Regions from separate parts of the Homo sapiens genome. Here all the other regions are linked to region 2. Evidence: promoter capture Hi-C in human tissues and cell types (Jung and others, 2019). All regions are on one chromosome and are shown on one strand. Each heading gives the region's core, a stretch centred on a gene start or on the middle of the fragment in contact. The rest is flanking DNA. Distances are from core to core; before and after follow the strand shown.

The links. Contacts are between HindIII fragments. The study calls those that stand out against the background at their distance.
Region 1: a fragment that was not itself captured here is called in contact with the fragment with the promoter of SEL1L3 in region 2 in 2 of the 25 tissues and cell types used here (lymphoblastoid cells and thymus).
Region 3: a contact is called between a fragment that was not itself captured here and the fragment with the promoter of SEL1L3 in region 2, in 1 of the 25 tissues and cell types used here (lymphoblastoid cells).

What each region holds. Positions count from the first base shown.
Region 1 is chr4:26,439,101-26,442,251 of GRCh38, reverse strand. No RefSeq gene overlaps it. Among named protein-coding and RNA genes, the nearest start is that of CCKAR, 50 kb to the left of the region's middle. The HindIII fragment of the contact is 3,524 bases long and covers 1-3,151 here.
Region 2 is chr4:25,861,728-25,864,734 of GRCh38, reverse strand. It overlaps SEL1L3 (SEL1L family member 3), which reads left to right and starts at 1,747. Exons shown (of 24, transcript NM_015187.5): 1 at 1,747-2,060. The coding sequence starts at 1,899. It overlaps LOC102723733 (a long non-coding RNA gene), which reads right to left. Exons shown (of 2, transcript XR_427503.5): 1 at 2,582-3,007. RefSeq lists silencers at 1,514-1,673, 1,724-2,183, 2,454-2,748. The HindIII fragment of the contact is 7,102 bases long and covers 1-3,007 here.
Region 3 is chr4:26,744,249-26,746,958 of GRCh38, reverse strand. All of the region lies in intron 18 of TBC1D19 (TBC1 domain family member 19), which reads right to left. Among named protein-coding and RNA genes, the nearest start is that of STIM2-AS1, 110 kb to the left of the region's middle. The HindIII fragment of the contact is 3,212 bases long and covers 1-2,710 here.

The sequences.
Region 1 (3,151 bases), core at 363-2,862, 580 kb before region 2:
TCATAGTTCTCCTCCGAGCAATTGGAAGAATGAGGCATTATTTACCCAAGGTGGAAGCCTGGCTGGGTACGGTGGATTAGGTGAAGGCAAGGGGAAGGAAATAATGAGTTCGTTTTAGATAGAAGTTTGGAACGCCTATAGCCTTCAGATGTCAAATAAGCAGCTATATCTACATTTCTGGAGTTCAAGTGAGAAGTCTGGGCAGAAACTATGAATTCTGGAGTCATTTCCATATAGCTGGTGTTTCAATGTGAGACGGGGGAGAGGTCACCATGGGAGGAGCACAGGTGGGGAGCACCATCGCTTTGGTGATTTTCTTATTAGGTTAAAGGAAGTGGGTAGGACTTCCCAGTAACTGGAAGGATAGATGGTCCATTTCCCTAATTCATTTTAGATAATTTCCATCAGTATGGAAATGGGGTGGGATTTGTAATACTTTTAGAGAAGATAATCACATAGCATCATTTTGTGTTAACCGAATTCAGGGGATGGGACTTTGTTTTGGAACTCTCCAAGATGCAGAGGTTGGGAAGGTGAGAAGGAACCAGCAAGGCGGACTGAGAAAGAGCAGCCTGAAAGCTTGGTGTCCAGGAAGCCATGTGAAGAGTTTCAAACATGAGAGAGTGATCAGCTGCCTCCAGTGAGTTAAAGCCTAGGATGTGCAATATTTCAGGCAACACTATAATGAAGTGATCTGCACCTAGTTAACAAAATGTGAGTTTGCAATTTTTTTACATCTCAGAAAACAAAGTATTTCATATGCCCTAACATGCTACTTTCAATCTTTGAAAATATCTCCATGTCTATTACAAATGTTAAAACGAACACAAAAAACAAAAGCAAAGCCCCAGGTTTGCCTGGGCTCTTGTGCCTACAAAGTCGTCTTTCTCTCCACTTGTCCACAATGAGTCAAACTCCAGTAACTGTGTCCGAAGCTCTGCTCTTTGCACACACTTGGCCGGTGTTCAAATCACATGACAGAAAATGTTAAGCATCACATTCCAAAAAGAGACTCCTTGGTTTTGTTGAAACATTTTCAGAGCAGGTTTGCAGTGTGTGGTGGTAGTGGGGATGCACATTCACACACACGTGTGTTCCAAATCTCATTAGTGACGGGAGTGCACATCTCAATTGTCTTCTGACAACCCGTCTTTGGGACCTCCACATTTCTGGGACCTCTCCCTCTACTTTGCTTCTCTCTGCTCACCTTGTATCCACAATCCCCTCCCTAGAAGGCACCTGTGTCTTTGTTGGTGTCATTTAGATCTCAAATCACAGTGTGGAAAAGAAAGCACGGCCCTTCCAGAGCCAGGCCACAGGAAGGTTTCTCTACAGATACGCCTGGCCAGTTTGAGTGAGGAGACACAGCTCTGAGGATTGTCTCTGTCTGTGAATCTCAGCACAGATACCTCTTATTAGGTTTTTGTGATAATTTAGCCTCTCTGAATTTGCAGAACTGCTCTCATGAGTAGGGGAGCTCGCCAATTAAAACTGAGGTGTTTCTTTTCCCCCAAACCAAAGGTTTTTTAAACTCAGGAGTTGCCCAACAACTGTATGCGAACTTCTACATACAGCAACTTCGCCTTGGATGTCAAAAGGCTCTGAGGTTTATGCACACGGTTAGGTAATGCAAGCCTCTGTATCGTGACTACAGTTGCATATGAACATTTTAGCTTTTAGACGGGCCACATTATCACATTATCTGACTATCCCATTTGTAATTTGGTATATGGGCCTTCTCAAGTATAAGGAGAAATTTTAACTCTGTTTAAAAAAACAAGGCAGCAAATTCTAAAATGACTGTTAACAGTTATTTGGAAAACAGTAACAATCACTAAAAATAATTACTTTTATGGAGCAAAGCCACTCTTTCACTTCTTGTCAATCACTCTCACTTCTGTCTGTGGACACACTAAGCTCCTGCCACCCGAAGCGGGGTCTTTTGACCAGCAGCATCGGTGTCACGTGGGAGCATGCTGGAAAATGCAGAATCTCGGGAGTCACACTGAAGACCTGAGAGTGACTTGGTATCTCACGCCCTCCCCCGGGGCTCACCTCTTCTCCATACACCCCTCCCTTGGTGATCTCATCAGGATGATGGCTTTAAATATCATGTCCAAGTGACTGACTCCCAAATGTTCCCATCCAGCACAGACATCGCCCCGAACTCCAGACATGGAGATCCAACTGCCTACTTGTCCTTTCAACTTGAAGTCTAACAGGGATCTCAAAATGGGCATAGCGAAAACTCTTGATTTCCTCTCTCAACCCCCAGCTCGCTCCTCCTTCCACCTACCTCCCGCTTCAGACTTCCCTGCTACTCATCTAGTTGCATTCTGTGGTAGACAGAGGTCACTCCTGAACCAAACCAAGAGTGACAGTGAGGCTGTTTCCTCAGCCCATCTGCAAGTTCCCTTGCCTTTCGTCAGCCTGGCTCTTCCGTCCCGCCTCCAACTTGTCTGACTCTACTCTAAGGTGGGGTTCTCTATCAGGAAACTCCTTGGAGACCCTTTAAGTAGCGCCTTCTTGGTATATAGGAATCCCAGAGTCACAGTCGGCTGTGTCAGTGTCTGGTGGGATTTCCTTGTCTCTTACTCCTCTCTCGATCCCTACAGTTCACAGGGGTCATTCTACCCTGATGAATAGTATACCCAGGGGCTGGTTACCTCAAGGTGGCTGAAACAGACCCAGAGAAAGACAGCTGGGCTAAGCTTAAGTTACTTAACCAGCTTCACCTTACTGTGATATGTGCACGGCACCCCCACTGCAATAAACAGTGACATCAGAGGCAGCAGTTTTATGCTCCACATCACATATCAGTACATTTAGAACATAATTCTCACCCTGGATGCTGCTAAGGTCCTTTGATGGTCAGATTCTATCTATCTCTGAGCCCTCTGATAGGTAAACATGCATCCATACTGTTTCTTGCCTCTCTCCACTAGAAGGAAAGCTCCACGTTGCAGGCCTTTATTTATTGCCACATCCACAGTTTCTGGCTGTGGAGGAGCTAAATTAACTAATAGAGCAAACAGTTATTAATACTTTCTCAAAGACAGAGGCTAATGGCCAGGCGTGGTGGCTCACGCCTGTAATCTCAGCACTTTGGGAGACTGAGGTGGGCAAAGTGCTTGAGCCCAGGAGTTCAAGA
Region 2 (3,007 bases), core at 498-2,997:
TGGAACAGAGATAGTGGGAGCATCTGTCAAAACCCCCAAAATGCTTTAATGTGGTGGCAGCTGGCTGGGAGGAGCAGGAGCCCAGTTCCCTAAAAGCCAATAGTTCTGGAAATGGAGGAGGGCTGTTTGAACCAGCGCGTTAACATCACCCAGGAGCTTGTTAGAAAGGTACATTCTCAAGTCCCTCCCAGGACCAACTGAGTCAGAAATTCTAGGGCTGAAGTCCAGGAATCTGTGTTTTAACAATCCCTCCAGGTAATTCTGAAGTTTGAGAACCGGTGGAATAAGGCCAGGGAACTCACACAAGGCCACAGCTCTTAGGTGACCTAAAAAAAAGTGGACGACAGCTGAGGAGCCACCATGCCTGGTGTGGCCAGGCCTGTACTGAAGCAGCTGAGGGCGCGTCCACGCCCGTCAAACCATCCCGGGCACCCCGTCTCACCACCAGCCTCTCCCCGACGTCTGTTGTGACTTGACCTATGCTCGTGGCACAGGGAAAGGGCTGTGGCCTCTCAGGCTCCCAGGCTATTATTAGTTCCAATCCGCACAAATCTACCAGTGCTAAAGGGAAGCTTCTGCGAACTTTGGAAGGTGGATTAACTGTTTCAGAGCAGCAGCTGCGGGCCCAGATAGTTGTCGGAGCCGCTAGACACAGCCAAGCGCTTCCCTGAAAGCCAAGGCCGGCGGCGAGCTGGTGGTCCCGCCGGCCGGAGGCCCCTCCCCGCCAGGCCGCAGAACCCGGGTCGGAGAGCAGCCAGTCTCAACCTGCGTCCCCAAGGCCGAGGATGTGTCCTGGTTTTTTAAAAAGCTGTTTGCGCACTTCCAGGGCCTCACCCCTTTCATTTGGGGCTCCAGTATTACTGTATTGACCTAATTAATTCATTTTTTTCTCAGTCCAAAGTGGAAGCCGGAGCACAGGGATGCAAATCAAATACAAACCCGTCCTGGGTGCCAATACTCTGGACAATTAAAACAAAGAGCGCAGTGGTGGCGGTGGCGGCGGCACCACACAAAACCCTCGGGAAACATCCAGAACGTGCCGCGAACCAGCCGGCAGGGTGGGGCGCAGCCCGGCTGCAAACATGCCAGCAAGGAGGCAGTCCCAACCCCGCAGGTGGACAGGTGGAGGTTGGCAGGGGTCAAAATCCATCCTGAAGGCCTGGGAGCCGGGCAGCTGCGCGGCACAACTCCAGGGGGCACACTCGCCCTGCGCCCTGCGGGAATGGCGCCCCGGCCAAAAAAGCAACCAGACAAAAACCCATTGCACGGGCGGGAACTGGTCTGTGCGACCCGCAAAAGGGGTGGGTGGGAGAGGAAGAATGCGGAAGCGAGGAAGAGGATGGGAAGGGAGAAAGAGGAAAGGGAGGAAAAGGAGAAAGTGAAAAAGAGAGGGGGTTTGGGAGCGCGAGGGGAGAAGGAAGAGGGAGCCGGAGGGAGAGGAGGGGGATCGCAGAGAGCAGGAGCGCGGAAGGGGGGCGGGGGAGGAGCAGAGAGAAAGGGAAAGGGGGGTGCGCCGGGGCCCAGCGACCCGGGCGGGGGGTGGCGGCGGCCAAGGGGCGGGACCCGGGTCGGTGCCCACCTGCGTGGGCGCCCGCTGCTCCGAGGGGTGGAAGCCCGGGGGCCAGAGGGAGCGGCCGGGAGGAGGGCTGGGCAGGGAGGCAGAGGGGAGGGAGGGGACGGGGACGGGGAGGCGGGGAGGAGCCGGCGCTCGGCTGGGGCTGCGGGGGCGGCGACGGCGGGAGCGGCAGTGGCGGCGGCGGCGGGTCCGGAGGTGGCGGCAGGTGGCCCCGCGCGCGGCGGCCGGCCCGGCCGGGGGCGGGCGGGAAGGTGGCGCCTCGGGCGGGGGCCGGTCCCTGCACCAGGTGACCTGTTCCGGCCCGGATCCGGGCGGCCTCGCCATGCAGCGGCGCGGCGCGGGGCTCGGGTGGCCGCGGCAGCAGCAGCAGCAACCCCCGCCGCTCGCGGTCGGCCCCCGGGCCGCAGCCATGGTCCCGAGTGGCGGCGTCCCCCAGGGCCTCGGCGGCCGCTCTGCCTGCGCGCTGCTCCTGCTCTGCTACCTGGTGAGCGCCGGACCCTGCCCGGGTCTTCCCCTCCGCGCGGGGCCCCGGGGACGCGGGTGGGGGCGGCCGGGGACACCCGCCACGCGGGGCGGGGACGCCGCTGCTAGTTTTCTCTCTTCCTCGTCGCTGCGCCCCGGGCGTTCCCGGCACCTGGGATAGGTACCCCGGGCGTGGAGAGGGGCGCTTGGACCGGACTTGCCAAGCTGCTCTCTCGCTCGTGCTCATTCCTTTCCCTCCTGGACTCTCTCTAGACCCGGGTCGGGTTACCCTCGAGACCCCTTCTTGTCCTCGACTCCACCCGGGAGCCTCGCCGCCCGGAGTTCGCTCCCCGCCCCGCCGCGCGCAGTCTCCAGCACCCCCCAACCCCCCACCCCTCCTGGGCTTCCCTCTCAATCTTCTCGCAGCTCCTTTCCTTCCCGTGCCCAACTTCGCCTCTTACTCTCGGCGCCCGCCACCCGCGTCGACCCTCCTTTTAGTTTCCACCGGGTCCTCCCGGCCCGGACAGTTTTCTGCCAACGCACCTCGCATCTCCAGCGCTCTTCAACTCCTCCTTGGTCACTCCAGCCAAGTTGCGGATGCCGGAAAGAAATCTAGTTCTCTGTAACACGCTTACCGCCAGAGTGGTGACTTTAGCTGCGTCTTGAACATTGTCATTTCAGAGAATATGTTTGGCTCATGCATGTCAGTTTGCAATTTGCACACTTCTTGGCTTCTGTTTTAGTCATCAACTAAAGGGCAGTAACCTATTTTTCAAAACCCATTTATTTTAAATACCAGAGTAGCTGAGACCCCTCAGAACAAAGTGGGGAGAAATTTTCTCAGTTCCTTTGAGGGCTTGCTTGCTTCTGTTTTGAGTTCTCCTAAACAATAGTAAATTTACAGAAGGCGACACCCTTCCTGCCCAGAGTAACTTATGTTCCACAATCCTGCAGAAACCTTGGGTTATC
Region 3 (2,710 bases), core at 31-2,530, 880 kb before region 2:
TGTATCTATGCTGTACGTGCTACCCACATGTTAGTCACTTAGAAGCCACATTGGTTATCAGGTTGACTGTCCTGGTATCACAGCGCCTGTGTTCAAGTGACCCTTTTTTTTTTAACTTAATAATGGCCCCAAAGAGTAAGAGTAGTGATGCTTGCATATTGTTATAATTGTTCTATTTTATTATTAGTTATTGTAAATCTCTTGCTGTGCCTAATTATAAATTGAACTTTATCATAGTTATTCATATATAGGGAAAAACATCATGGTGTATATACAGGGCTCAGTACTATCCACAGTTTCAGGCACCCACTGGGGGTCTTGGAATATATCTCCCACAGATAAGGGGAAACTACAGTATAGCAGAAATTACCCTTATTAGTGTACAGTTCAATATGTTTTGTATGAAGAACCAGATGGAAATTATAGAACTGAAAAATACAATAACCGAAAAACCACACAAAAACATCTCACTAGATGGGATCCAATAGTAAAATGAGAATGATGGAGGAAAGAGCCAGAGAATTTGACTATAGATCAGTAGAAAATGTCCAATCTACACAATACAGAAAAAGGATTAAGAAAAAGTGAAGGGCTGTGTGTGGTGATGGCTGTAATCCCAGTGCTTTCGGAGGCTGAGACAGGAAGGAATACTTGAAGCCAGGAGTTTGAGACCAGCCTGAGCAACAAAGCAAGAACCTATCTCTATGGAAAAAAAAAAAAAAAAAATAGACCTGCAAGGACCTGTGAGAAAATAACAAACCTTATTTTTCTTCATCTTCTTTTTTTCTTTTATATCAAAAGTTTGAACATTTGTGCCACTGGATTGCCAGAAGAAAAGAAGAATGAGTATGGTGCAGAAAAAAATATTTAAAGTAATAATGGGTCAAAACTGCCAAATTTGGCAAAAGACATAAACTTATAAATTCAAGCTTAGCAAACACCCAAGAGGATAAATCCAAAGAAATCTATGCCTAGATATATCATAATCAAAGTGGTGAGAACTGAAAACAAAAATCTTGACAGTAGCCACAGAAAAATAAGGATTGATATCACTTCTTCCTGGAGTGCTTGGTAGAATTTGCCAGTGAAGCCATCTAGGCCTGAAGTTTATTTGAAGGTAGAATGTGATTAATTAAAGAAGTATATTGGCTGGGTGCGGTGGCTCACACCTGTAATCCCAGGACTTTGGGAGGCCAAGGCAGGCAGATTGCCTGAGGTCAGGAGTCCGAGACCAGTCTGGCCAACATGGTGAAACCCCGTCTCTACTAAAAATACAAAAAAAAAATTAGCTGCGCATGGTGGCGTGCACCTGTAATCCCAGCTACTTGGGAGGCTGAGGCAGGGGAATTGCCTGAACCAGGGAGGTGAGGTTGCAGTGAGCCAAGATCGCATCACTGCACTCCAGCCTGGGTGACAGAGTGAGACTCCATCTCAAAAAAAAAAAAAAAAAAAAAAAAAAAAGAAGTATATTGTAAACCTCATGGCACCTATCAAAAACATACTTTAAAAGTATAAAAATCTAATAGTGGAGATAAAATGGAATAAAAAATGTTCAATTCAAAAGTAGGCAGAGAATGAGAAAAAAGGAATAAAGAGAACATGGAATAACTAAAAAAATTTAGTAATATAGTTGATTCCAATTCAATAATATCAATTTTATTAACTATAAATGGTATAAACACACCGATTAAGAAACAGACTGCCACATAGGAAGACCCAACTTTCGATAAGAAATCCACTTAAAAAAAGATATTGATAATCAATATGTTAAGTAAAAGAATAGAAAAGAATGTATCATGCAATTATAATCAAAAGAAAGCTGGAATGGCTATATTAATATCAGACATAGTAGATTTATTACTAGGAATAAAACAGGACATTATATAATAATAAAGTGATCAATTCTCCTAAAAACAAAGCATCCAAATACGTGAAGAAAAAGACAAAGCACTAAAGGAAGACATAGACAAAATCCACAATTATAATTAGAGCTGATCACATTTCTCTTTCAATAATTAATAGAAAAAGTAGACAGAAAATTAGTAAGTGTATACAAGGTTTGAACATCATTATTAACAAACTTGATTCCTTGACATTTATATGACATTCTGCCCGATACTTGCAGAATACAAATTTTTTTCAGGTGCACATGGACCAAGACAGATCATGTTCTGGATCAAAAAACAAACTTCAACACATTTAAAACAACTGAAATCATGTGAAGCATGCTGTTTAACTGCAACAGAATTAAAACAGAAATAAATGCCAGAAAGATAGCTTTCCAAATATTTAGAAATTAAACAACGTACTTTTACATAACCCATATTCAAAGAGGAAACCACAGGATAAATTATGAAACATTTCTAATTAAATAAAAATGAAAATATAACATATCAAAATTTGTTAGGTGGAGGTAAATAAGTAATTTGAGGGAAATCTGTAACATTAATGCTTATATTAGAAAAAAAGAAAGTCCCAAATCAATGATCTAACTTCTACCTTAAACAAGCAGAAAGACAAGAGCAAAATAAATCTAATGCAAGCAAAAAGAAGAAAATAATAAATATAAGAGTAAAAATAAATAAAATTAAAGTAGAAAAACAACAGAGAAAAAGAATCAATGGTACAAAAAACTGATTCTTTCAAAGATGAATAAAATTGATAAACCTGCAGCCAGAATAATCAAGAAAAAATGGGAGATAATACAATT